Regions from separate parts of the Homo sapiens genome. Here all the other regions are linked to region 7. Evidence: promoter capture Hi-C in 16 types of primary human blood cells and fetal thymus (Javierre and others, 2016). All regions are on one chromosome and are shown on one strand. Each heading gives the region's core, a stretch centred on a gene start or on the middle of the fragment in contact. The rest is flanking DNA. Distances are from core to core; before and after follow the strand shown.

Evidence for each region. The method cuts DNA at HindIII sites, captures the fragments that hold promoters and counts their contacts. A CHiCAGO score of 5 or more calls a contact.
Region 1: a contact is called between a fragment that was not itself captured here and the fragment with the promoter of ATP4A in region 7, in 1 of 17 cell types (erythroblasts). The highest score is 5.5, in erythroblasts.
Region 2: a contact is called between a fragment that was not itself captured here and the fragment with the promoter of ATP4A in region 7, in 5 of 17 cell types (monocytes, neutrophils, activated CD4 T cells and 2 more). The highest score is 7.4, in monocytes.
Region 3: a fragment that was not itself captured here is called in contact with the fragment with the promoter of ATP4A in region 7 in 1 of 17 cell types (M0 macrophages); the score reaches 5.5 in M0 macrophages.
Region 4: a fragment that was not itself captured here is called in contact with the fragment with the promoter of ATP4A in region 7 in 11 of 17 cell types (M1 macrophages, total B cells, M0 macrophages and 8 more); the score reaches 7.8 in M1 macrophages.
Region 5: a contact is called between the fragment with the promoter of FXYD1 here and the fragment with the promoter of ATP4A in region 7, in 12 of 17 cell types (neutrophils, non-activated CD4 T cells, total B cells and 9 more). The highest score is 16.7, in neutrophils.
Region 6: a contact is called between a fragment that was not itself captured here and the fragment with the promoter of ATP4A in region 7, in 4 of 17 cell types (erythroblasts, M0 macrophages, M1 macrophages and 1 more). The highest score is 8.1, in erythroblasts.

Annotation. Positions count from the first base shown.
Region 1 is chr19:35,272,774-35,276,819 of GRCh38, forward strand. All of the region lies in intron 7 of USF2 (upstream transcription factor 2, c-fos interacting), which reads left to right. Among named protein-coding and RNA genes, the nearest start is that of USF2, 5.8 kb to the left of the region's middle. The HindIII fragment of the contact is 2,308 bases long and covers 760-3,067 here.
Region 2 is chr19:35,161,413-35,165,462 of GRCh38, forward strand. It overlaps FXYD5 (FXYD domain containing ion transport regulator 5), which reads left to right. Exons shown (of 9, transcript NM_014164.6): 6 at 2,744-2,833. Among named protein-coding and RNA genes, the nearest start is that of FXYD5, 8.7 kb to the left of the region's middle. The HindIII fragment of the contact is 159 bases long and covers 1,382-1,540 here.
Region 3 is chr19:35,963,450-35,967,516 of GRCh38, forward strand. It overlaps LOC105372383 (a long non-coding RNA gene), which reads left to right. Exons shown (of 5, transcript NR_136525.1): 5 at 98-621. Among named protein-coding and RNA genes, the nearest start is that of LRFN3, 29 kb to the left of the region's middle. RefSeq lists silencers at 155-455, 205-405. The HindIII fragment of the contact is 3,759 bases long and covers 1-3,702 here.
Region 4 is chr19:35,084,881-35,088,474 of GRCh38, forward strand. HPN-AS1 (HPN antisense RNA 1) reads right to left here. Exons shown (of 4, transcript NR_024562.1): 3 at 2,076-2,220. It also overlaps the pseudogene LOC100420797. Among named protein-coding and RNA genes, the nearest start is that of HPN-AS1, 20 kb to the right of the region's middle. RefSeq lists enhancers at 1-52, 1,339-1,388, 1,499-1,608. The HindIII fragment of the contact is 229 bases long and covers 1,140-1,368 here.
Region 5 is chr19:35,136,815-35,140,732 of GRCh38, forward strand. It overlaps FXYD1 (FXYD domain containing ion transport regulator 1), which reads left to right and starts at 2,010. Exons shown (of 8, transcript NM_021902.4): 1 at 2,010-2,080; 2 at 3,262-3,326; 3 at 3,783-3,815. The coding sequence starts at 3,266. The HindIII fragment of the contact is 25,239 bases long and covers 741-3,918 here.
Region 6 is chr19:35,986,522-35,990,595 of GRCh38, forward strand. No RefSeq gene overlaps it. Among named protein-coding and RNA genes, the nearest start is that of SDHAF1, 6.6 kb to the right of the region's middle. RefSeq lists an enhancer at 422-481. The HindIII fragment of the contact is 4,649 bases long and covers 311-4,074 here.
Region 7 is chr19:35,561,771-35,565,431 of GRCh38, forward strand. It overlaps ATP4A (ATPase H+/K+ transporting subunit alpha), which reads right to left and starts at 1,888. Exons shown (of 22, transcript NM_000704.3): 1 at 1,848-1,888; 2 at 1,614-1,757; 3 at 1,439-1,498; 4 at 665-868. The coding sequence starts at 1,859. RefSeq lists an enhancer at 3,043-3,544. The HindIII fragment of the contact is 9,853 bases long and covers 1-3,661 here.

The DNA.
Region 1 (4,046 bases), core at 664-3,163, 290 kb before region 7:
GCTGGAGAATAAGGGTTTCGTGCTGAACTCCCCTCCATGCTTGGAAGGGAAGGGGTGCATCTGAGCTTGGTTTTGAGATGCAGTGAGTTTGAGGGGCCCCCAGAGCAGCCCCAGCCCCACGACTTACCTGTGGTGGGGCGTCAGGGTGGTTCTTAATCTCCGTACCTGTCTTCCCTCTGTGAAATGGTGGAAGCACAGCCGCCCCGGGCACCTGGTGGGGATGCAGTGAGTCTTGGTGGCCACACAGTAAGGCGAAGAGAGGACTCAGAACCCTCCCACCCCACTCTCACCCCCGCCTCTCCCTTAGTTAATCTGACTCCAGGCAGCCTTGAAACTTTCTCACCCTGTGAAGCAGTCTTCATCACCTGCCCACTTCTCCAGCTCCGTCCTGTCTCCGCTTTCCTGACTTGCAGAGCATCTGCCCCAATCTGCTCATCCTCCCAGTACCCTCAGCCATCTGGCTCATGGCTCTACCAAAACAGCTCCACTTCCGGTCACCCGTGGTGACCCCATTGCCACATCCACTGGCCTCCTTTGCTGTCTGGGCTCCAAGCATCTGATGCTGCCTGTTTCCCTCTGTTCCTTTCTGGAATCTTCCTTTCTCCTCCATCCTCTCTGATTCTCCTGTGATCTTTGCCTTTCCTACCCCACTGTTAACAGTGAAATTTCCAGGGCTGTCCCAGTTCCAAGTGAGTAGATGGGGGTGCCGGGGAATCTGTGTTTTCCATCAGCTCTTCAGGTGATTTGTCATAGTGGACAAGCTTGAGAAACTGCTTTGGCTGCGAGTGTTTCTTTTTTTTTGAGAAGGGGGTCTCACTCTGTCACCCAGGCTGGAGTACAGTGGCACAATCACAGCTCACTGCAGCCTTGACCTCCCAGGCTCAAGCGATCCTCACACCTCAGGCTTCTGAGTGGCTGGGACCACAGGCAGGCGTCATCACATGGGGTAATTTTTTTTTATCTGTAGAGTGGAGGTCTTGCTATGCTGCCCAGGCTCGTCTTGAACTTCTGGCCTCAGGCAGTCCTCCGGCCTCGGCTACAGGCCTGAGCTGCCACACCCAGTCTTGCTGGTGTTTCATAAGGTCCGGCCCCTCCCGTCGGCCTCAGGTGTATGACTTGTGAGGCCCAGCGATGGGCTCGGAAGCTCTTGGTCAGTATCCCCCAAACTCTGTTCCCCCTTGTAGGTGTTCCTCTTTTTTCTTTGCTGCAGAAGAGTGTGTGACTCACAAAAAGTTGAGGACTGTTCCTTGATGTCCTCCCAGGCTTCGCCCACCACCTGGCTCCTGGTAATGCAAGGAACTGTGTTTCCATCCATTCCCTTCCTTTCACTGCAACTCCAGCCCCACGTTTTGAACTACCTATTCGAGATTTCTGTCTCTGGACATCCCTGTAATGCCTCAAACTCAACTCGCCCAAAAGAGAATGTGCCATCTCCCGTCTCCAAAGGCTTTCATGCAACCTTCTTCTTTGCAGAGCAGCAAAAGCTACCCCTGTCACAGCTGCCCAAGCCAGAAACTAAGACCAGAGCCGCTTTCAACTCTGCCCTCTTCTTCCCTTATGGCCACAAACCCCAAGTTTCTCTTCTGTGGTGATTTCAGATCCGCTTCTCTCACTTCTTTTTCCCTCCTTCCCACCACTTCTTGGTACTGCAGGAGCTTATCCCAGAGTCACAGACTCAAATGCCTGCAGGGGCCTGAGGGAGGGAGGTGCACTTGGCATCTCAGGAAGGGGTGTGTGGCTGGGTGTGGTGGCTCCCGCCCGGAATCCCAGCACTTTTGGGATTACATTTTGGCCAAGACGGACGGATCACTTGAGCCCAGGAGTTTGAGACCATCCTAGGCAATGTGACAAAACCCTGTCTCTACCAAAAAAATTAAAAATTAGCCAGGCCTGGTGGTACATGCCTGTAACAGTCCCAGCTACTTGGGAACCTGTGGTGGGAAGATGGCTTGAGTCCGGGAGACAGAGGTTGCAGTGAGCTGAGATTACCCTCCAGCCTGAGCAACAGACCCAGACCTTGTGTCAGAAAAAGATAGGAAAGGTTGTGGGGGGCCCCCAGTGATCTGGGGCATGTGTGCGCTGCCTGAAGGGTGGCCCTTGCCCAGTGCCTTCCCCTTGCTGCCCTGTCAGAATCTAGGGCCACTGTTGCCAGAAACTCTGAGAAGCTAGAAATCGAGACTTATGTGAAATCTGATTTTTAGGTGCCAGATTAGATTGCTTTTTCCGTTTCATTGATTTCTACTCTTAATGTTACTAATTCATGCTTCTACTCACTTGGTTTTTTGTTTGTTTGTTGTTTTGTTTTGAGATGGAATCTCGCTCTGTCACAGTGGCGCAATCTCAGCTTACTACAACCTCTGCCTCCCCGGTTCAAGTGATTCTCCTGCCTCAGTCTCCCAAGTAGCTGGGACTACAGGTGCCCGCTGCCACACCTAGCTAGTTTTTGTATTTTTGGTAGAGACGGGGTTTCACCATGTTGGCCAGGCTGGTCTCGAACTCCTGGCCTCAGGTTATCCACCTGCCTCAGCCTCCCAAAGTGCTGGGATTACAGGAGTGAGCCACTGCACCCGGCCCCTTCTACTCACTTTGGATTCAATTTGCTAGGTTTCATGCTTTAGCTTCCCTGGCACACCCCAACCCCAGCTTTTTAAGGTAATTCTTTTTTTTTTTTTTTTTCCAATTTTCTACTAAAATCTTTATTTTACAGGATTAATGTTTCACAGCAGGGATTGAGATGATTCTTAACCTTTCTCTTTGCTTAACAACATTTAGAGTTGCCAGTTCACTCCAGCATCACTTTAGCTACATCCCACTGGGATATGTTGTTTTTGTTATCATTCAGTTTAAAGTGTTTTCCAATTTTCCTTGTGATTTCTTCTTTGACCTTTCTGTTATTTGGAGGCAGGTTGCTTAATTTCCAAATATTTGTGGGTTTTTCAGATATCTTTTTGTTATTGATTTTTAATTTAGTTCTGTTATGGTCAGAGAACATACTCTGTATGATTTCAGTTCCTTGAAATTCGATGAGACTTACCCGACGGGCCCGAATGTGTCCTAGCTTGGCGGAAGCTTCTGGGGCATTGACGAGGACAGGTGTCTGCTGCTGTCAGGCAGAATGTCCCCCCAGGTCAGTGAGGTCAGGCTGGTTGAGTGTTCAGGCTTTCTATTCTGATTTTTGTTGTTGTTGTTTACTTGTTCCACCAATCAATGAGAAAGATGTCCATGTCTCTCACTATATTTGTGGATTTGTCCATTTCTTCCTTCAGTCCTGGCAGGTTTCGCTTCTGAATTTTCTCTTTTTTTTTTTTTTTTTTTTGAGACAGAGTCTCGCTCTGTCACCCAAGCTGGTGTGCAATGATGTGGTCTCGGCTCACTACAACCTCCACCTCTTGGGTTCAAGCAATTCTCGTGCTTCAGCCTCCCAAGTCGCTGGGATTATAGGCATGCACTGCTATGCCTGGCTAATTTTTGCATTTTTAGTAGAGCCGGGGTTTCGCCATGTTGGCCAGGCTGGTCTCAAACTCCTGGCCTCATGTGATCCACCCTCCCAAAGTGCTGGGATTACAGGCGTGAGCCACCCCACCCAGCTTCTGAATTTTAAGTTTCCTATGGAGTAACTGAAGTGCTTCTGTGGAATGAACGTGGCCTTGGTCCTAATGGGTCTTCCTGTATTTCAAATGTGCCATGATGGTCTTCCGAAGCCACAGGCTGGACAGCATTACCGCCTGCTAATGTCAGGGCCTGGATTCAAGGGCCTGGGACTCTGGAGGAGGAGGAGATGCGGTCCTGACCTGCGAGCAGAGCACACAAGGCCTTGACAACCGATCTTTACAACCTTTTCCCACCCCTGCATACCCTGAAATGGTTTTCAGGCCACCATTTCTGGGATCTTCCCAGCTGCCTGCCTTAGAGTCTTTCTCTCAGAAACCAGCCCGAATGTTTCCTGGATCTCTGAGGATTCATCCCACCCCCATTCCCATGCAGAGGCCATGGCTCGGCGCCTGGCGTTCCCGAGGCACTTTGTACCATCTTCAGTGATGACACGA
Region 2 (4,050 bases), core at 211-2,710, 400 kb before region 7:
CCATAGTTCTAACTTTAGGTCACATACGTGGTGGCTAGAGAACAAAATCTTTCCCATTATTTCTAGCCTGAGGCCTAGAATTGACTCTCATTGGTTCAGCTGGAGTCACATGCTCATGTCTGAACCAATGAGAGCCTGAGAAATGAGCTGCTCTCATTGGTCAGGCCTGAGTCTTGTGCCCCACCCTGGGGCTAGAGAAGAGGCTCAGCCAGCCATGCCTGAACCACATAGACCAAGAGTCAGGGAAGAGGGGATTTTCCTTTGGACAAGTGAGTTAGTATTACCAGAAGGTGTGGGAAAGGAGACTGAGCTGAGATAAGGCAACAGATCGCCTCTAATGCCTGCGTGATGATCCTTATTTGAGGGGCAGCCCCACACTGGAAAGTGTTGTAGAGTAGGCCACTCCCAGAGAGACATGTACAGTTGTGCAGACTGGGTACTGAACGAGAGCACCACCTCTCGGGCAATGCCATTCCCTTTGTCGGTCTTTATAATTGTTCCAGTTTTCTAGTGATAGCAGCAAAGCATCTCATTCTTACAGAATCTATCTATTAAAACAATCCTACAATGGATGGAAATAAAGTGCTTTACAGAAGGGAACTTTTCTAGTTTGTACAAAAGTGCACCTGTAGGGGTGGGGGATAGCAGCTGTGTCCACACTTATCAATGATAAAGCATTCTCACATCACTGCATTAATTTACTGAGTCTTTGCTGACCTGAGTTGCTCTATGTATTGGTCCATGTTCCTGGATATATGTGACAGAAATTCATCAAGGACAAATGGCTGTCACTGCTGAGCCTCTGGGTTGCCTAGAGGCTGGGCATGAAAGCCCCCAGGGCCTCTCTTCCTCCTCTATCTTTGCTTCTCTTCCACCTAGGAAGGAAATGGCTCATGTTATTTGAGCCTCCTAGCTCAAAACTTCCAGACTTCACCTAGGGTTTTAATCTGCTCAGGTTACGATAACAAAATACCACAGACTGGATGGCTTAAACAATAGGAATTCATTTCTCCCGGTTCTGGAGATGGGAAGTCCAAGATCAAGGTGCCAGAAGGGTTGGTGTCTGTCGAGGGCTCCCCTTGGGTCACAGACAGCCATTCTCTTGCTCTGTCTTCACCATGTCCTCTCCATGTGTGGGTGGGCTTGTGAGCTTGAAAGCAAGCTCTCTGGTGTCTTCTTATAAGGGCACTAATCCCATCATGAGGGCCCCACCCTCATGATCCTATCTAACCCTAATTACCTCCCAAAGGCCCTCGCTCCAAAATACCATCACATGGAATTTGGTGGGGTGGATAGAATTCAGTCTATAGTACCTAGCTGTCACTCAATATCCCTACTTGGGATTTCAAAGGTCTCAGGGAAGGACCAGACTGAGGTCACAAGCTTCCTTTTGTAGCCTGGGTTATAACTGGGGAAGGGAGGGCAATGTCTTCCCACAAAGAAAGGGAGAGCTGTTCCAGAAGGAGGAAGAGTGCTGAGCAGACAGTAATAGCAATGGCTGACTTTTGCTGAGAGCTTGTTCATGCTGGGCACTGTGCTAAGCTTCTGTGTATTCAGTCATTTGATGCTTGTGATCATCCTGTGTGGTGGGAACTGTCATTACTCCCATTTTACAGGAAAAGGAACTGAGGCCCAGAGAGGTTACTCAGCTTGCCCTAGGCAATACAGCCAAGAGTGGCAGAACCGGAATTTGAGTCCAGACTGTCTCACCCCAGGGTGCATGAGCACCACACACCAGTATGGCTGTCCTTCGCATTCCTGTGGTCTCTGCCGTGGATCTGGCTTATACCTTCCTCTGGGCAATGCATTCCCTGAATATCTTGTAATCCTTGGTTGCCAGTTCCTATTTAGGGTGTGGGGCACTGAGATAATTCCAGGGAACTTGGGTTTCACGAGGGAGCTTCTCTGTCTGCTGGCTTCTTGTTGAGGCCTCCGATGTGGTGTGGGGGCACTTCTCAGTGCTTGGGGGAGGCCTTTTCTTTGGAGGTACTGATTTTTTTTTTTTTTTCAAGAGAAGAATCCTTTGGTATTTTCGGTCTGGGGGCAGAGGTGATATTCAGAATAGTTTTGTTGTTGTTGTTGTTTTTGAGACAGAGTGTTGCTCTGTTGCCCAGACTGGAGTGCAGTGGCGAAATCTTGGCTCACTGCAATCTCCACCTCCCGAGTTCAGGCAATTCTCCTGCCTCAGCCTCCCAAGTATCTGGGATTACAGGTGTGTGCCACCAGGCCCAGTTAATTTTTGTATTTTTAGTAGAGGCGGGGTTTCACCATGTTGGCCAGACTGGTCTTGAGCTCTTGGCTTCAGGTGATCTGCCCGCCTCAGTCTCCCAAAGTGCTGGGGTTTACAGACATGAGCCACTGCACCCAGCCAATATTCAGAATGTTTTACAAGTTTCTCCAGACTATGTAGCTGGGTCAGAGTCCTTGGCAGGTGTTGCCCTTTCGTTCCTTTATCTCCTGGATTATAGTGTGGGCCAGAAGGTCCTAGGAGAGGGGTCTGGAGTCCCTCGGGGATTGAGGCAGATCAGATAGTCGCAACCGGGGCTATGTGCTTATTTCAGCATTTCAATGCCTGTCATTACTTATTGCCTCTAGGTGTGGAGTAGGGGGGATGCCTGACCCTGCACACCAGCTGTGTAGATGTGGGAGAGGGGTTTCTTCCAGATGCAGACTCTCAGTAATATCCCTTGTTTCTGCCTCCATGGCTCACTCCTGCCCTCCACTGATCTGGCCACTCTCTCAGCTCATCCCACTGATGACACCACGACGCTCTCTGAGAGACCATCCCCAAGCACAGACGTCCAGACAGACCCCCAGACCCTCAAGCCATCTGGTTAGTAACTGCCTCCCCAGACTGGAAACAGGCTATTTTCTGTTCACTGTGTATTTCCAGCACCTGGAGTACAGCCCAGCACAGAATAGTTCTCAGTAAAGACGTGATGGGAAAGTAAATGACTTCAAGCCAGGCAGAGGGTGGGCACATGATAAATGTCTGAATAGATAAGTGAATGCATAAATTATTGCTGCATACAAACCACCTAAAAACTCAGTGGCTTAAAAGGATAACCATTTATTTAGCTCTCATTTCTGCAATTTGGAAATCTAGGGTGTGCTCAGCTGGCTGGTTCTTCTGGTTTCAGCTGGACTTACTCATGCGTCTGAGGTCAGTTGTGGGTCAGCAAGGACCTCTGTTTCTAGGGGCAATTTGATTCTTTCCCTGGTGATCTTATCCACCACTTCCTGCCCAGTCAGCCCCCCAGTGAATGAATGGAAATGATACGCCCATGGGTCACATAGAGAGCCCATTCATCCATTCATTCAACAAATAGTCACTGAGTACTTGTGTGCTAGGCTAGTTCTAGGGGACAGAGATAGAGTGGTGAACAAGCCAGAAAAAATCTCTGCCCTCATGGAACTACTATTCTAGTGGTAAGAGAAACACAACAAGAAATAATCATAATTATGTATCAGTTGATTTCAACTTGCTATCAAGAAAAGTAAAGTAGGGTTAGAGAGTGACTGGGGAGTACAGGTTGAGTATTCCTTATCCAAAATGCTTTGGACCAGGAGACTTTCAGATTTCAGATTTTAGAATATTTGCATTATACTTACCAGTTCAACTTTCCTGACCCAAAAATCTGAAGTCCAAAATGTTCCAGTGGGCATTTCCTTTCGGTGTCATGTCAGACTGTTACTGGAAAGGGGTTCCGATCCAGACCCCAAGAAAGGGCTGTTGGATCTTGCACAAAAAAAGAATTCAGAGAGTCCATAGAGTTTATTTAGAAAGTAAAGGAATAAAGAATGGCTACTCTATAGGCAGAGCAGCCCCACAGGCTGCTGGTTGCCTGTTTTTATGGTTGTTTCTTCGTTATATGCTAAACAAGGGGTGGATTATTCATGAGTTTTCTGGGAAAGGGGTGGGCAATTCCCAGAACTGAGGATTCCTCCCCTTTTTATACTGTATAGGGTAACTTCCTGATGTTGCCATGGCATTTGAAACTGTCATGGTGCTGGTAGGAGTGCCTTTTAGCATGCTAATGTATTATAACT
Region 3 (4,067 bases), core at 573-3,072, 400 kb after region 7:
ACCTTGCAAAGACTTATAAAGTAGTCTAGACTTATGTGCTAAGTGGCAAGTGCTTTTATAAATAATGTACATACATTATATAATGTTCTCTTTACAGTCATCCTGGAGATGGGTCTTTTTGTTATCCTCATTTCATAGAGAAGACAGTTGAAGGTTTAAGCCATGAAATCACTGCCCAAGGCCACATGCTGAACAGATGTCAGCTTTGAACCCCAAGCCTGCTTGGGCTGCTGGGAAACAGGCATGTTGTCTCAGAGGGCACCGCGCTCGGCGAAGACTCAGCGAGACTGGACGCTGACCATGGTTCTGAACACACTGTGCTGCGGGACCTGGGCTTTTCCTGTAACCCTGAAATCCCATTCAACCTCTTACGGTCCTGAGAAACAACGGAAGACCAGGGAGATGAGAGAAAAGTGAGGGAATGCTGAGAGAGAGAGGCTGGGTTTCTTAGAAATGAAGACAAGGACTTCAATTCATTTATTTATAACAGCTCAGAGCTGGACTCTGGAGCCAAGAGTCCTGGATGCAAATCCTGCTCCAAGCTGTGTGATTCTGCATAAGTCAATTCATTTCTCTGACTATCTACTTCCCCTCTATTAAAGGTGGATAATAGTATGAACATCATAAGGTTGTTGTGGCATTTTAAATTAAATTATTTATTATTCCTATTATTATTTAATAGAAATAGAGATGGGGTCTTGCTATGTTGCCAGGCTGGTCTCAAACTCCTGGGCTTAAGCAATCCACCCACCTTGACCTACCAACACACTTGGATTACAGGCATGAGCCACTGCACCTGGCTCTAATTTTTTATGTTTATTTATTTATTATTATTATTATTTTTGATATGGAGTCTCACTCTGTCGCCCAGGCTGTAGTGCAGTGGCGCAACCTCGGCTCACTGCAACCTCCGCCTCCCAGGTTCAAGCAATCTTTCCACTTCAGCTTCTCTAGTAGCTGGAACTACAGGTGCCTGCCATCACTCCTGGCTAATTTTTGTATTCTCAGTAGGGATGGGGTTTCATCATATTGGCCAGGCTGGTCTTGAACGCCTGACCTCAAGTAACCCACCTGCCTCAGCCTCCCAAAGTGCTGGGATCACAGGCATGAGCAACCGCGCCTGGCCTTATTTTTATTCATTTATTTATTTATTTATTTATTTATTTATTTATTTATTTTGAGATGGAGTTTCATTCTTGTTGCCCAGGCTGGAGTGCAATGGCAAGATCTTGGCTCACTACACCTCCACCTCCCAGGTTCAAGTGATTCTCCTGCCTCAACCTCCCAAGTAGCTGGGACTACAGGCACAGGCCAGCACACCCACCTAATTTTTGTATTTTTAGTAGAAATGGGGTTTCCACATGTTAGCCAGGATGGTCTTGAACTCCTGACCTCAGGTGATCTGCCCATCTCGGCCTTCTAGAGTGCTGGGATTATAGGCATGAGCCACCACACCCAGCCTTTTTTTTTTAATTAAAAAAAAAAAGTAGAGATGGGGCCTCACCATCTTGCCCAGGCTGGTCTTGAACTCCTGGGCTTGAGTGATCCTCCTGTCTTGACCTCAGAAAGTGCTGGGAGTACAGGCGTGAGCCACTGCACCCTGCCAGCGTTTTTTAAATGACTTCATAGAACACTGTCTGGCATGCAGTAAATATTTGCCAGTATTACTTTGCAGCAATTTTTTTTTCATTTTCTTCAGGCTAGGCCTGTTCTAGGCACTGCAGATGCAACAGTGAACAACACAGACAACATCCCTGCCCTCAGGGAGCTGACACTCTAGCTCAGTCCATACGAAAACTCTATATTCCATCTTTTTTTTTCTATATTCCATTGTGATAGAAAATATGCAAAGTTCTACAGAACACAAGATTATTCTTAAAAGTTCACTTTGGGGTCAGGTGTGGCGGCTCATGCCTGTAATCCCAGCACTTTCGGAGGCCGAGGTGGGCAGATCACCGGAGGTCAGAGTTCGAGACCAACCTGAGCAACATGGCAAAACCTCATTTCTACTAAAAATACAAAAATCAGCCAGATGTGGTGGTGCATGTCTGTAATCCCAGCTACTTAGGAGGCTGAGGCATGAGAATCTCTTGAACCCGGGAGGTGGAGTCTGCAGTGAGCTGAGATCACACCACTGCACTCCAGCCTGGGTGACAGAGTGAGACTCTGTCTCAAAAAAAAAAAAAAAGTTCACTTTGTAGGTGGCTAGCTTCGTGCACTGATAGCAATGAATAAATAACATCCCTTCCTGGGAAGAAGGAAGGAATATATGTCTCCAGTTCCCCACAGCATACACACATGCGCACGCACACACGCGCACACACACACACACACACTCTCACATCCTACCCTCAAGTCTGCTTAATGTGGCAAGTTGAAGTCCTCGATGGCCAGAATCAATGCACCATACATTTGCACTGGCATAGAGATGCTCACATAATTGAATCTGGCTGTCTTCAGATGCAGCCTGTGCTCTCGAGCTCCCTACAGACCTATTCTACACCCAGGCCGTGCTGATCATTTTGTCCCTCAGTCCCACTCTTTTCTTTCTGCTGATACATACAGACCCAGTTTATTTTAAATTGGGAACACTGATAGCTTCTGAATGTTGAGTTTCCAGTGCCAGGGACCCTGGAGGCCCGGGGTATGAAGGCAGGTCGGGGATGAGGCTAAATTCCAGGATCCAATTATATTGCATCCTTCCCTCATCTCATCTCTAAATATTTTGACTGAGGAGGAAGTGAGCCCTTTCATAGAGTCCCATCCCCTCCTAGTCTTCCCTGGTGATGCCACTCCAGTTCCAGGTCTCCTGTGAGGGCCATACATGCTCTGATGGGACCACATGTCAGCTTGTGAAGCACAGACTTAAGTGTGTGGCTGGGCACAGTGGCTCACACTTGTAATCCCAGCACTTTGGAAGGCAGAGATGGGTGGATCACTTAAGCTCAGGAGTTGGAGACCACCATGGGCAAAATGGCAAAACCCTGACTCTACAAGAAATACAAAAATTAGCCAGGTGGCATGCACCTGTAGTCCCAGCTACTTAGGAGGCTGAGGTGGGAAGATGGCTTGAGTCCAGGAGGTGGAGGTTGCAGTGAGCTGAGATCGCACCACTGCACCTCAGCCTGGGCAACAGAGCCAGACCCTGCCTCAAAATAAAAAAGAAAAAGAAAAAAGAAAAAAACAAAAAACAAAAAAGTAATTTAAAATCTAAATAAATAAATAAATGAAAAAGGCCTAAATGTGTGCCCACCACTCAGGTCACATGTGAGTCTGAGACCTTGTCCAGTTCCAAGATGGCAGGACTCCAAAACACCGTCCATCTTCAGCTCTAAGACCATGGCAGTGGCTGCATCAGGACCAAACAACACACCTGAAGCTGAGCCAAGGCTTGTGCCTGTGCTCCTGGGGGGACCTGAGCCTGAACCTGTGGCCATGGCTCATCTGGGGCTTGCACAAGTGACCGTAAATGAACCCTGCCCTGAACCTGTAGCTGCAGCCGCACCAGTGCCTCGACTTGTGACTGTGAAAGAACCACTTCCTGCAACTCTGGCTGTAGCTGAACCAGCACCTATACCACCTACCAAACCCATAGCTAACCATTGTCTACAACCATGTCCAAAACCAAGACAGTATCTGTGTCTGGGTCAGAACTGTCTCATGGCCAAGCTGGGGCTCAAGGTGGTGACAGTGACTAAACCAAGCTTAAAGACTCTGGCTGTGGCAAAATTAGGACTTGACTGTAGCAAAGGACAAGGGGCCATCACAGGGGCTACCACCTGAGCCTCTGGGCTACCATACATCTAGACTTTTTTTCTTTCTTTCTTTCTTTTTTTTTTTTTTTTGAGAAGGAGTTTTGCTCTTGTTGCCCAGGCTGGAGTGCAATGGCACGATCTCGGCTCATTGCAACCTCTACCTCCCGGGTAGAGGTTCAAGCTTGAAGGTTCTACCTTCAAGCGATTCTCCTGCCTCAGCCTCCTGAGTAGCTGGGATTACAGGCATGTGCCATTACACCAGGCTAATTTTGTATTTTTAGTAGAGATGGGGTTTCTCCATGTTGGACAGGC
Region 4 (3,594 bases), core at 4-2,503, 480 kb before region 7:
GGAATATCTCCCACATCCCACCCAGGACATTTCTCCTTTTCTGACTTTCTTTATTAATCCTGAGACTGGGGGACACCCCCACTCCGCCAGCGCACACACACACACACACACACACACACACACAAAACCCTCCCCAGCAATCTCTCCTCCAGTATGTTTTTCCCCTGATCTGTGAAACCCCCAAAGACAAGGGTTAGGGATGGGGTCTCTCTTGGTCACCAGTGTGTCACCAGAACCTACCATAAGGCATTTAAAAGCATAGGTTAGGGCTGGGCACAGTGGCTCACACCTGTAATTCCAGTACTTTGGGAGGCCGAGGTGGGTGGATCACTTGAGGTCAGGAGTTCAAGACCAGCCTGACCAACATGGTGAAACCTTGTCTCTACTGAAAATACAAAAAAAAAAAAAAAAAATTAGCTGGGTGTGGTGGTGTGCACTGGCTGAGGCGGGAGGATCGCTTGAACCCAGGTGGAGGTGGAGGCTGCAGTCAGCCAAGATGGTGCCACTGCACTTCAGCCTGGGTGACAGAGCAAGACTCTGTCTCAAAAACATAAAAAAAATGAAAAAGCATAGGTCAGATCTCATCAGATTCCTGATTAAAAGCATCCCTGGGTCCCCCTTACCTCTGGGATGAAAACTGACCTCCAAGCCTCCTCCTAAGAGGCCCCCACAGCGGCCTCTCTCTGCTCACCCTGCCTCCTCCTACACTGGCTTTGTCTAGCTCACTCCACACCGAGGGTCCAGCCACACTGGCCTCTCTGCTGTCCCTGGACCACGCCAAATGCCTTCCCACCCCTGGGTCTTTGCATCTGCTGTTCCCCCGGCCTGGAATGCTCTTTCCCAGACGTACACACGGCTGGCTCCTTCCATCATTCAGGCCTCAGCTCCAATGTCACCTCTGCAGAGAGGCCTCCCTAGCCACTGTCCTCAAATCAGCCCATGGGGCTCAGCCACTCTGCGCTACCTAAAGCTGGGTAACACAGATCTAACCCAGTTTCTCAATCCAAAATTATCTTTTATTTATTGCTAGTTTGTCGCCCATTTCCCCCCTCTAGAATAGGCCAGCACACTTTTATGATAAAAGGCCAGATAATAAATATTTTAGGCTTTCAGGGCCACACTCTGCCACAACTACTCAAAGCTTCTGTTGTAACATAAGAACAGTCATAGACAATACACGAACCGGCGAGCTGGCTTTCATGAAGACATTATTTATAGACACCGGAATTTGAATTTTACATGATTTTCACACCTCACAAAATTTCCTCTTTTGGTTTCTTTTTTTCTAACCACTTAAACATGTAAAGACTATTTAGATTGTAGGCTGTGCCAAAACAGGTGGAGGGCCAGATTTGGGCCCAAGGGTGAAGCTTGTCAACGTCTGCCCTAGAACATCTGTTTTATGAGGTCAGGGATCTCTGTCTTGGTCATTGCTGTGTCCCCAGGCCCTGGGATGTTCCCGGCATGTAGTGGATGCCAAAGTTGAACAAATATGTGCTATAGAAAAGGCTTCGACACATTCATTAATTCTTCCAACAAATATCCATTGAGGTTTGCCGTGAGCTGGGCTCTGGGGAGATAGCAGGGAACATAATTTGAACGTGGGGCAGTGAGTTGACATCCTTGCATTGAATGACTTGTGTTCCTCCAGAGCTGACCTGGCCCCCCGACAGCCACTACGAGCTGTGTGGCTTCTCCTGTCCCAGCTCCTGCACCGAGCCTGCCCTGCCCGACAGCTGTCTGACACCATGCCAGGATGGCTGCCAGTGTGACCCAGGATTTGTGCTCAGTGGCACGGACTGCTTGACCCCCATCCAGTGCAGCTGCTCCATGGGGGGCAGATACCACCTGGCCGGGGAGCCATTCTGGGCTAGGGAGCACTGTGAGCAATTCTGCCACTGCGAGGCTTCCACCCATGCTGTGTGCTGCTCCCCCTCCTCCTGTGGGCCAGGGCAGAGATGTGGGACCCTAAGGGGCATCTTTGGGTGCCACCCATTCTCCCCTGGCACCTGCCAAGCAGCCGGGCACTCACACATCATCACCTTTGATGGGAAAACTGTTGAGTTCTCAGGTACCTGTGTGTCCGTCTTTGCCGAATCCTGTGGCTCTTCCGGCTCACTGCCATTCTTCAGGATACAGCTGTGAAAGGAGAACAGATCCAGCAGCCCCCTCATGCTCATCTTGGAGGTGTCTGTCCAGGTTAATGGGACCCAGGTCCACCTGCGGAGGGACAGCCCAGGCATGGCTCAGATAAGCACCAGCTTTGGGACGTGTCGTTTCTAGGAACCCCAACCCTTCACCCAAACCCATAGGCCCAAGGGAAAAACTTATTCTGTCTCCATTATTTCTACATTTTACCTCTATTTTCTGATTATATGCCCATTTTTGACTATATCCATCAGATGCATTCAGCTAATATAACAGAAACACTCTCAGACCAGCTTAAGAAAAAAAAGAATTACTGATTTACACAATTGAAAAAAAAAATCTACAGGTGTATGGATTCAGGCATAGCTGGACCCAGGTGCTTGAACAATATGTCTCAAATCTGTCTCAATTTCTGGGCTCTCCTTTCCTTCATTTTCAGACAGGCACCATCCCATCCCACCTTGTAGGGACAAGGACAGCTGCCAGGTTAGCAAATGTCACTGGAGGAAAAGTGTCCCTCACTGGCCCAGCTTGAGTCATGTGACCACCCCTGAATCCCTGATGGACTAGCTGATTGGCTGGGCCTGGGTCATGTGCTGGAAGTTAGGATAGGATTGACTTTCTGTGAACCACATGGATTGATTTTGGAGGGGTGAGTTCTCAGGGAAATCCAGAGAAAGGAGAAATGAATGCAGAACAGGATAAAACAAGAGATGGTCACTATTATAGTTATGTCCTTGTTCCTTCATCTAAAAATGTTTTACATGTATTGGTACGGTGGCTTACATCTGTAATCCTAACACTTTGGGAGGCCAAGGCAGGTGGATCCCTTGAGCCCAGGAGTTCAAGACCAGCCTGTCTCAAGCAGGCAATATAGCGAGACCCCGTATCTAAAAAAGAATTAGGTGGGTGTGTTGGCGCACGCTTATAGTCCCAGCTTATAGTCCCAGCTACTTAAGAGGCTGAGGTGGGAAGATCGCATGAACACAGGAGTTCATGGCTGCAGTGTGCCATGATTGTGCCACTGCATCCAGCCTGAGGGTCAGAGTGAGACCCTATATCAAAAAAAATCAACATTTTTCACGTATTTGAACACCTACTATGTGCCAAGCAACACTGACCCAACTGTGGTCCTATGCTCCCGAGCCTTCCTTTGATTCTGCCTGCTCCTTAGGTGAATGGTGAGACAACAGCCCTCCCCGTAAGCCTGAATGGGGGCAGCCTTGCCGTCCACTGGAATGGCCTCTTCTCCCTGCTGCAGTCAGACTTTGGCCTCTGGCTCAGCACAGATCTCACCTACAGCCTTACCCTCACCCTGCCCCACCTCTACAAGGGTCACACCTGTGGGCTCTGAGGCAACTTCAACTGCAACCCCAGTGAGGACGCTAAGGCTGACATTACCTTGGAGAAGCAGAGCAAGGCTTGTAGGGACAGCTGTGGGGCTGC
Region 5 (3,918 bases), core at 760-3,259, 420 kb before region 7:
ATTTTGGCAGGCTGAAGTGGGAGGATCGCTTGGGGCCAGGAGTTCAAGACAAGCCTGGGCAACATAGAGAAACCCCGACTGTACAAAAAATTAAAAAATTAGCCAGGCATGGTGTCGCACGCCCATAGTCCCAGCTACTCAGGAAGCTGAGGTGGGAGAATCACTTGAGCCCATGAGGTTGAGGCTACAGTGAGCTATGATTGTGCCATTGCACTTCAGCCTGGGTGACAGAGCAAGACCCGGTCTCAAACAAACAAACAAAAAATGAAGTTAATCATAAGACAATGTCAAGTTCAGAGACCTCTGAGCCCTGTCCAGGATTATACACGTGATCTTAGTGATTTTTCCATTTTGGAGCATGTGAAAATGAGGCACAGAGCTGCTCAAGTTCACACAACCAGGAGTGCAGTGCCTGGGCCATTCCAGGTTTCCCTGTCACCAGGACCTGTAAACCTGGCCTGCCCATGGGGACGCCAGGTGTGTTGTCCCCGACAAGAGCTCAGGGGAAGGAAAGTGTGGGGTTAAATACATATCTGTGGTTTTGGAATGTGTGAACATGCAAGTGTGTCAGCCTGCGCATCTGTCACCGTGGCCAACCATGTGCCTGTTTGCTCAAGCATAGGGTGTGAACCAGTGTGTGTGTTTCTGCTTTTGTGGGTATGTGTGAGAGCGGCGGGTTGTCCTTGATGGTGTTTCTGCTTGTGTATCTGTGCCCATGGAAATCTGTCTGTGTGTACACAAGCTTGTTGGCCTTCCTATCTTTGGGACCATGTAGGAGTGCTGGCTGCATGTCTGTACCTTTGGGGTTTTTTTGTTTTGTTTTTGTTTTTGAGACAGAGTCTCGCTCTGTTGCCCAGGCTAGAGTGCAGTGGCATGATCTCAGCTCACTGCAAGCTCTGCCTCCCGGGCTCAAGTGACTCTCCTGCCTCAGCCTCCGGAGTAGCCGTGATTACAGGCGCACGCCACCACACCCAGCTAATTTTTGTATATTTTTTTAGTAGAGACGAGCTCTCGTCGGGTTGGCCAGGCTGGTGTTGAACTCCTGGCCTCAAGTGATCCTCCCGCCTTGGCCTCCCAAAGTGCTGGGAGTACAGGTGTGAGCCACCGTACCTGGCCATGTTTGGCCATGCATCTTAGAATGCATTTATGTGCGGTGTGCACATACTTGTGTGTTTCTGTATGGCCATTTGTGGGTGGGTCTTCACATAAACATGCATTTTTGTGGCCAGTTTGTGAGTGTAGATGGTGATGTGGCTATGTCTTTGACTGTATCTCTGTGTGGCCATCCATCTACATGAGCGTGCGTGGGTCTGTGTAGACATAAATGTGCTTGTTCTGGTATTTTGTGACTGGCATAAAAGGTGTTGGCTGTGTGTCCGGGTCTTTGGGTTTCTCTATCAGTGTGTCATTCTGTGTGTGTCTGCTTCTATGGATGTACATACATACATGGTTTTGTCTGGTTTTGTACCTGTATATCTGGGTCTTTGGGATTGTGTGTGGGTGTGTGTGTGTGGTGCATTTCTGGGGATCTCACCACAGCAGATAGCGCACATGCGCGCGCACACACACACACACACACACACCTCCCTCCCGTCCTCTAAAACAGCCCTGTTAAGGACCTCACGGAGCACTGGGATCGGGGGTCAGTGGGCTCCTGGGCAGTCAGGCTGGGTGACCTTCGGCCCTGGCTGGACCCAGTTCCCAGGGGGCAGCCGCCTCAGCCCAAAAGCTCTTGGAGGCGTGTGTGTTTGTGTGTGTGTGTGTTCACAACCCTGTCCTCCACAATCCTCCTAGCCTCTCCAGCCTGCCTGCTGGCTGCCTGCTGCTGCTCTCTCTGAACTGAGAGAGTTAACCAAGCGGGCCAGGGCAGTCTGGGCTGGGGGCCGCCCCCTGGCCCCCCTCCAGCCCCAGCTCCAGTTTCAGCTGCTGGTTGGGGAGGGCATGGGTGGGGTGGGGCTGGGAGGGGAGGCTGCTGGGGGCGGCGCGTCCAGCTCTGGGCCAGGGGGTCCAAAGTGCTCAGCCCCCGGGGCACAGCAGGACGTTTGGGGGCCTTCTTTCAGCAGGGGACAGCCCGATTGGGGTGAGCGTCCCCCACTCCTTCCCTCCAGGCCTCACCCCTGGTCTGGCTGGGCCGCCTATTTTGGGAGCAGGAGTGGCCAGCCCGAGGCTTCCCAGGCAGGCCAACCCAAGAGGGAGGGAGTGTGGTTGAGGCAGTGGGTTCTGCAGGGTGGGATGTGGGTGACTCCTCCCTGCCCTGCTGGTGCGTGTGCACCCTGGCAGGGTGTGGAGTTGGGACACACACGTGTGTAGGGCTGGTTGCGTCACTGCGTGGGGGCACCGGAGGCCCAGAGGAGGAGTATTGGATGCCTGACGGTGTTTACACCCCACGTCCTGCTCCAACCAGCAGTTTGGGGAGAGGTTGTTGTTCATGTCCATTCCGGCCCCACTGTGTGTGTGTGTGTGTGTGTGTGTGTGTGTGTGTGTGTGTATCCCTGCCCCAGCATGTGTTTTCTATCTCTAAGGCCCACTGGGCTGGGCCTCATGTCACTTGCCTGACATCCGATTGTGAAAGATGTCACCCAGAGGCGGGCAGAGGGGCTGTCTTTTCCTTTTCTCGTTGCTGCCCAGGGAGGAGACGGGGTGACCTTTCCCACAGGGGCAGCCTGTGGCGATGTGGCAGCTGGGCCTCACCCCGGCAGGGCTGTGCGTGACCCCCTGAGTGGGGGAAGGCAGGCTGTTGCCATGGTGGCCTGAGCGAGCAGAATTCCTCCAGGGTGAAGTGGGAGATATTTATACCCGGGGTCAGGCCGCGAGCGGGCGGGCGGAGAGGGCAGGGAGCTGGGATTTCGCGGGGCACAGTGAGGCCGGGCATGTAGGCAGGTGGGACTTGGGCGTGCCCTGCTGTCTCCTGCTCTGTGTTTGTGTGAGGCAGCGCCTCCTCTGCCCTGCCAGGGTAGGTCTGGGAATCGGGGGCCTGCTGCGGGAGGTGGAGGCCCAAGGGAGGCCCCCCGGGGACTGTGTGTCTCACCCCCGTCCCTGCTACGTTGTGTTGTTGTGTGATCCCATCGTGGAGGTTGTTTTGGTGACACTGTGTCCCCACGAAGCTGGGGATACCCGTTTCTCTAGCTTGGAGCCACCAAGATAGAGGACAAACACTTCTGTGATTCAGTCCCCAGACTGTCTCTGACTTAATCCCTTGGGTTCAAGCCCTATGTGGGAGAGCAAGGGCACACACTGCCTAATCCGTGGTGTCCCCCCCAGGACAATGGCGTCTCTTGGCCACATCTTGGTTTTCTGTGTGGGTCTCCTCACCATGGCCAAGGCAGGTGAGTGCAGGGGAGGCTGCCCGCTACCCACCTCAGCCCCAGGGGTGGCGGTGGGGACCGAAGAACCAAGTTGGAGACCCCAACCTAGACTAAGTCGGCTGGGGTACCAAGAAGTTTGGGGGTCTCCACGTGGGGTCCAGTCACAGGCTGGTATTTGGGGGAGGGGAGAGGAAGCCCCAGATCAGGCAAAGATGGGGTGGGATGGGGCTGAATCCCCGATGGGATAACTGGGTCACAGACAGCCTGCCGTGAGTCAGGGAGCTGGGGCAGTTAGGTGCCACCTGCCCCATCTGGGACAGTGCAGAGGGGGCAGCTGGGACCCAGAGAGTGTGGGCAGCCTGCCCAGACACCCTCAGACTCTAAGCCCAGCAAGGCAGAGCCTCCAGTGGTCTCCTCATGCCCCTCCCTGCCAGGACCCCAGGAAGCATTCAACCCCTGATTTCTCTCTCTTTCCAGAAAGTCCAAAGGAACACGACCCGTTCACTTACGGTGAGCGGGGGGTCTAATTTTGAGTCCTGGGGGAGAGCCTGGCTTTGCTGGTCCTTTGATTCCCCCTCGCCCTCCCCCAGAGTCCCAGTATTGATATCTCTGT
Region 6 (4,074 bases), core at 1,385-3,884, 430 kb after region 7:
CCTACACTGTGGCTTGCAGGGCTCTGGGAGTCTGCCTTCTGTCACGAGTGTGCTTTCGAGAGAGGGGTAAGCTCTGAAGAGCCCTGACATGGGCCACCAGGGGACGGTCGCGTCAGGACCAACAGAAGTTCAGGCCTGGGCAGTGGGGCTAGGCGAGGAAGGGTGGGTACTGGAGAACAGTTAGGACCAGATTAGATGCGGCAAGACAGGCAGGGGTATGACTTGATTTGATTGGTCTGGTTTGATTAACAAGGTCTTTTTAAAATTTTTAACAATTTTTATAGAGACAGGGGTCTCACTATGTTGCCCAAGCTTGCCTCGAATCCTTGGGCGCAAGCGGCTCTCCCTCCTCAGCCTCTTAAAGTGCTGGGATTACAGGCGTGAGCCACAGCGCCCGGCCTGATTAACAAGGTCTTTCTGTCTTTTATGCCTCTTTTTTCGGTGTCTCTATGTCTCCTCCGTGCCGCTGGCTCTCTGCATGTCTCTCTTTCTGGACCTCCCTCTGCCCCGCCCCTTCCCCTGTTCCCGTTCCCCTTCTCTCGGTTCCTCGTTGTTTCTTCCCCGGGCACACCCGTGCTGCTCTCTGCGGGCATCCTCCATCTCCGCCTCCCCCATCCGACCCTGGCTATGTCTCCCCCACCTCTCTCTGTCTCTGTCCCTGACCCTCCCACCCCCGCGGCCCGCCCCAGCTTTGCGGTGCCCGCTGCGTTCGCGCTGAGCTGCGCGCTACCTGGCCACATGCGCGGGTGACAGCCCTGCCGGGAGCGCTGAGTATGCGGCCAGGGCTTCCCGCTGAGCGGCGCCTCTGAGTGCCCGCAGCCGAATGCGGCTGCTTCCTTGCAGGCGGACACCCACCGCTGGGCACCGTCTGGTACCCTGCCCCTGCGGCCCCCGCCCCCGCGCTCCGCCCCTGTGCTCTCCCTTGCTGGCCCGCACCATTCCCGGGCTCAAAAAAATAAATTAAAAATTAGGCGGGGGGGGGGGGGGGTGGTGCGCGCCTGTGTTCCCAGCTGCTCAAGAGACTGAGGTAGGAAGATCCTTAAGCCCAGGAGGTCGAGGCTGCAGTGAGCCATGGTGGCGCCACTGCACTCCAGCCTAGGCAACAGAGCCAGACCTCGTCTCTAAAAGAATTAAATAAAATTAAAAAGTGTATGTCTTTAAAAGATAAGGGTGTTTAGGCCAGGCACGGTGGCTCACTCCAGTGATCCCAACCCTTTGGGAGGCCGAGGCGGGCAAATCACTTGAGGTCAGGAGTTCGAGGACAGCCTGGGCCAACATGGTGAAACCCTGTCTCTATTAAAAACACAAAAATTAGCCGGAAGTGGTGGTGCATGCCTGTAGTACCAGCTATTCAGGAGGCTGAGGCAGGAGAATTGCTTGAGCCCAGGAGGTGGAGGTTGCAGTGAGCCGAGATCGTGCCACTGCACTCCAGCCTGGGCAACAGAGCAAGAGTCTGTCTAAAAAAAATAAGAAAAAAGAAAAAAGACAAAAAAAAAGATAAGGGTGTTTAGCAGAGTCAGCTAGATGGTGGGGATGGAGTATAGGAAGGACAGGCATGACTGAGTAGAGACAAGATAAAGGGTTATGGCCTGGTGCGGTGGCCCACGCCTGTAATCCCAGCACTTTGGGAGGCCAAGGCAGGTGGATCACGAGGTCAGGCATTCAAGACCAGACTGGCCAAGATGGTGAAACCCCGTCTCTACTAAAAATACAAAAATTAGCTGGCCATGGTGGTGCGTGCCTGTAACCCCAGCTACTTGGGAGGCTGAGGCAGAGAACTGCTTGAACCTAGGAGGCGGAGGTTGCAGTGAGCCAAGATTGCGCCACTGCACTCCAGCCTAGGTGACAGAGTGAGACTCTGTCTCAAAAAAAAAAAAAAAAAAAAGGTAACAGGTTATTAGCAGGGTCGGGAAATGAATGATGGTAATCTAGACTCTTGATGGTTACAAAGCAGAGATAAGTGATCATTTAAGCAATAGAGAGAAGGTGGAATTGATACTTTGGTAAGTCATTCCTTTCCTCACCTAGAATGTTGAACACATATTACCAATGTGCTAGTGACTGGCTATGATGTTTTTTGTTTGGTTGGTTTTTGTTTTGTTTTGTTTTTGGAGACAGAATGTTACTCTGTCACCCAGGCTGGAGCATAGTCATGTGATCACAGCTCACTGCAGCCCCAAATTCCTGGGCTCAAGTGATCCCCCCGCTTCAGCTTCTGGAGTAGCTGTGACTACAGGCATGCCCCACCATGCCATCCTAATTTTTGTAGAGATGGGGTCTCAGTATGTTGCTCAGGCTGGTCTCAAACTTCTGGGCTCAAGGGATCCTCCTGCCTTAGCCTCCCAAAGTGCTGGGATTACAGATGTGAGCCAACATGCCCGGCCAATTTAGTGTTTTATTTAGTGCTTTTCATGTGCTCAGCACTGTTCTGAGGAATTTTCATGAACCATCTCATCTAATCCTTATTGCAACTGTATCAGTCAGCTAATGCTGCATAACAAACAACCTCAAAATCTTAGTGACTTAACCCCAGGCAGCTTCCTAACTCATGTGTCTGTGGGTTGGTTGGCATTGGCCGATCTTAGCAGGGGTCATGAAGCACTTACCATATGCCTAGCATAGGTACTCTTTTTTTTTTTTTTGAGATGGAGTCTCAGTCTGTCGCCCAGGCAGTGCAATGGCACCATCTTGGCTCACTGCAACCTCTGCCTCCCAGGTTCAAGCGATTCTTCTGCCTCAGCCTCCTGAGCAGCTGGGACTACAGGCCTGCACCACCACACCTGGCTAATTTTTGAGTTTTTAGTAGAGATGGGGTTTCTTCATGTTGGCCAAGATGGTCTCGAACTCCTGGCCTCAAGTGACCCGCCCACCTCAACCTCCCAAAGTGCTGGGATTACAGGCATGAGCCACCGCACCCAGCCTGAAGTAGGTACTCTTGTCCTTCCATGTTACAAACACAGAAACTGAAGTTCAGAAAGGCTAAGTCCCTTGTCCAAGTCTCACCCTCATTTGTGGCGCAATGAGGAGGGACATCCAGGTTTCAGGGAGGCATGGGAGCAGGTTCAGCCTCCTCAGCCCCAGTCCTGACCCCTTACCTCCCCTGCAGGTGGATGGTGAGCACTACTGGCTGCCCTGGGCACTGCCAGGGGGCTGGGGTTGGCCGCCTTGGAGGGCCACCATGCCATGGTGCACATGGCCTGTGGGCTGTATCTCATGTACACCTGGGGAAGCTCATGGTGCCTTCTGAATTCTAAGGCGAGCTGGCGGGGCTCCATGGGTCCTTTGGAGGCAATGTTGGCCTACTTGACCTGCCTCTGGATACCGTGTCCTGGTCCAAGGGCCTGATCACTATCCACTGCCCACTGACCCAGCCCAACCATGGCTTTCATGTCAGCTGCCCACATGACTTGCCCAGATCTTCAAAGCTCCCAAACTGTGTGGCCTCCTGCATGTGCCGGATGGCCCCTTTAACCACTGTGTGGCCCACATCAACAAGCCCTTCCTTAGTATATGCCTGCAGGATGCGTGTCATCCCAGTGGCCAGCACCGTGGTCTCTGTGACACTCTCACAGGCCATACTGCAGCAGCCAGGAGCCTGGGAACCCTGTGATGCCCTGGAGGGGCCCCAAGCATTGCCATAAGTGCTCTGGCTTGGTCTGGGGTGCAGGCAGGGCAGACTATGGGTTGGCTGGAAGAGCCCCTTCCCCTGGTGGGAGTCCAGGAAGAATTCCTAGCATAGGTGGAATTGGTGGAGGAGAATGTGTGGGAAGAGGATCCAAGGGAAAGGGAACTGCAGCTACAAAGGTGTGGAGGTGGGGAAATACCAATGGGAAGCCAGGCTGACTAGGGGCAGAGGCGATGAGATTGGAAAGAGGAATTTGAGGCTGGGCGCGATGGTTCCTGCCTGTAATCCCAGCACTTTGGGAGGCTGAGGTGGGTGGATCACCTGAGGTCAGGAGTTCAAAACCAGCCTGGCCAACATAGTAAAACAGTGTCTCTACTAAAAATACAAAAATTAGCCGGGTGTGGTGGCACACACCTGTAGTCCCAGCTACTTGAGAGGCTGAGGGTGGA
Region 7 (3,661 bases), core at 638-3,137:
CCCAGGGTCTCCTATTCCCCGTGCCTCAGTCTGTCCTGTGTCTGCACTGCATGTCCTCTGCTTCCAAGTCCCATCTCTTTTTTTTTTTTTTTTTTTTTTTTTTAAGATGCAGTCTCGCTCTGTCGCCCAGGCTGGAGTGCAGTGGCATGGTCTTGGCTCACTGCAACATCCACCTCCTGGGTTCAAATGATTCTCCTGCCTCAGCCTCCCAAGTAACTGGGATTACAGGTGCCCGCCACCATGTCTGGCTAATTTTTGTAATTTTAGTAGAGATGGGGTTTTGCCATGTTGGCCAGGCTGGTCTCGAACTCCTGACCTCAGGTGATCTGCCCGCCTCGGCCTCCCAAAGTGCTGGGATTACAGGCATGGGATTACACGCCCGGCCTCCAAATCCCATCTCTTACGTATCACATTGCCATACTCTTTATGCCCCCACCTATGTCCCCATACCCAAGATTCACCCCAGTGTCCCTGTGTCCTGTGTCCTTGGGTCTGCCCCATCCATATCCCAATGTCCTTCACCCTCCATGACCCCTGTCTTGAGACTGCCTTTCGTGTTCGTCTATCCCCATCCTTCTCTGCCCCTCTTGTCCCAAGTCCCAGGCTCAGTGTCTTCCATCCCCAGGTCCCCATGTCCTGAGCCTGTCCCCACAACATGGCTCACATTGTCGTCGGTGGTGAGGTCCCCCTCACTAGCCTGGATGGCAAAGGCGATGAGGCAGATGGCGGCGGCAACCCACATGAGGCACTGCAGGCCCCCGGCCAGCTGCCTCGCGAACTTGACGTACTCTGGGGTGCCCCGTGGTGGCCGCAGTGCGTTGGGCCCATCCCGCAGCAGCAGCTCAGCAGCCAGGCTCGCAGAGAGGCCCTGGGACAGAGGGGCAGGGCGAGGCGGTCCTGGGGGCTTTCCTCCACATGCACACCCCGTGGAAAGCCCCCTGCTTCAGTTTCCCTTCTCCAGCTTGGTCTGTCCTGCTCCTTCTCATCTCTTTGTCTCTTGGTTCCTGCCCCCACCCCATCTCTCCCTCCCTCCTTCATCTCTCCCTTTGTCTCTCTCTCCTCGCTCCCCTTTCTATGTGTCTCTCTCCTGCTGCTCTCTCCTTATTTGTCTCTGCCTTCTCTGTCTTGCTGTCTCTTTTCAGCTACTCCTCTCTCCGTCTCTGTGTGTCACCCTTTCTCTCTAATGCTTTCTCCCTTCTCTCCCTCTCCCTCTCTCTCCCTCTCTCCATCTCCCTCCCTCTCTCCTCCCCTCCCTCCATCCTTTCCTCTCTCCCTCCCTCCCTCTTTCCTTTTCTGCCTCCCTCCCTCTCTCTATTTCTCCATATCTTCCTCTCTTCATCTCTCCCTCTCTCTCCCTCTCTCCATCTCCCTCCTTCCATCTCCCTCTCCCTCCCTCTCTCCTCCTCCCCTTTCTGTACGCTCCCAGTCTCCAGCTCACCTTGGTGGCACTGGTCTGGTATTTCTGTTCCAGCTCCGCCACTGACAGCTGGTGGTCGTTCTGTGTGGTGGGGTGGGGCAGGGTGCTTGCTCTGGGCTCTCCTGGCCCCCTCCCCGCCCACTGCCTGGTTCCCAGCCTACCCTCCAGCTCCCGCCCCTCCCCAGTCAGAGCTCACAATCTCCATCTCCTTCTTCATGTTCTCCAGCTTCTCCTTCCTCTTGCCACCCCCGCCACCCGCCTTCTTCTTCTTGCTCATCTTGGCAGCCATGTCCCCGCCAGGGCCAGGACCCAGCTCCACCGAGTAGAGCTCATAGTTCTCCTGGGAATGGACAGGATGGAGGGAGGGAGAACTCAGATTCCACTGCAACCCCTGTCCCCACTGCACCCCGGACCCCTGGGCCCCACTCACGGCCTTCCCCATGGTGCCCGGTGCCTGTGCTCCCACCCAACAGAGCCTGGGCCCGGACCAGTCCTGATATACCCAGGGAGGGCGGTGGGGTGGAGCAGAACCGCCCGACCACAGCTGATTACAGGCTCCTTGGGGTGACCTCTAGGCCTGGGCACCTCAGGCATTCCCTCCTGGGCTGGCCCCCCCCTCCCCTGCCCAGATCCCCCCATGTCAACCTGCCCTGAGATCAGGGAGCCCCTGGGAACCGCTGCAGCAACAAGAAGAGCAAACATAAGGTGCTCATTATGCGCTGGGCATTGTGCTGACGGCTTCCATGTGCTAACTTATTTAACCTTCCAATAACCCTTTGAGGGGACAAGACCCTTTACAGATGGGGAAACTGAGGCATGGAGGGGTTGAGTCATTCTCCTATGGCTCCATCACAGGCTAGGACATAATGGAGTGAGAACCAGATCAGCTGGCTGCAGAGTGTCCTCTTTCAGTCTAAATAGCACGTGCCTGATCAACTGGAAGAGGAGGGTGCTCCCACACTCTTTTTTTTTTTCTTTTTTTTTTTGAGATGGAGTGTCACTCTGACACCCAGGTTGGAGTGCAGTGGTGCAATCTCAGCTCGCTGCAACCTCCGCCTCCCGGGTTCAAGTGATTCTCCTGCCTCAGCCTCTTGAGTAGCTGGGACTACAGGCACATGCCACCACACCCAGCTAATTTTTGTACTTTTAGTAGAGACGGGGTTTCACCAGGTTGGCCAGGCTGGTCTCGAACTCCTGACCTCAGGTGATCCACCCGCCTTGGCCTCCCAAAGTGCTGGGATTACAGGCGTGAGCCACCATGCCCTGCCATGCTTACAACACTCTCTATGGTGGCTGAATGTTTACTGAACTCTGACTATTCACTATGGGCTGGGTGTGCTCTGTGTGTCACTCAAATGGTTTCCTTAGCATCTAACAGCAGCCCTGTAAAGCAATATTCTCTTCTTAGCCCCCATCAGGGACTTTGCAGAAGATTTCAACGTCTAAGAATTAGGGACAGGGTTCCAGCCCGGGCTTGACCCCAGGGCTTGACCCCAGAGCCTAGCTCTTCTATGGCACCACCAATGGAAAAACCCAAACTTCACTGCAGCAGCACCACACACATGCCAGGCTCTGCACGTGTGACCTCACGGGTCTTTGCAAAAAACCCTGTGCAGGCAGAACTATCATTCCTGTTGTGCAGAGGGGGAAACTGAGGCTCACAGGGACTCACATATCCAGCTACAGACTTTACAGCTCTCAACCATTCCCCGTCCCTACCCTAGATGGGGAAACCAAGGTGCAACATGGGGAAAGGATGTGTCCAAGGGTCTTGGCTTGATCTTGGTGTTGGGTGACAGATGCCAGGAGGCCTGGGGACTCCCTCCTCATCCCTCAGGTAGGGACCTCCATGGGCAGCAGCAGCGAGGGGCTGGGCCAGTGGAATGGTGGGGACCTTGGTATGTTATGGGGTGAGCGTGTCTCCAGGAGCAGGTGAGCGTGCGCCTGATAAGATAACTGCCCTGGCAATGTCCTTCTCTACTGGGGCAGGTCACCTGGGAAACTCAAAGCTGTTGGGCAGCCAGAGCTCCTCCCCGCACCCACACGGCTGGTCATCCCCAGCCTGCTAGAAGAAACCTCCAAAGAAGAGGTGGCGTGGGGCCACATGCTGTCCTTGTAGTGAATCTACTCGCTCACTGGGCTCCCATCAGCTCTGAGCCATGTATGTCAAACAGCTTGTGTCACCCCCTGCTTACAACCCTCCAAAGCCTTCCCTTCCCACTCAGAATAAACTCTGCACTCCTT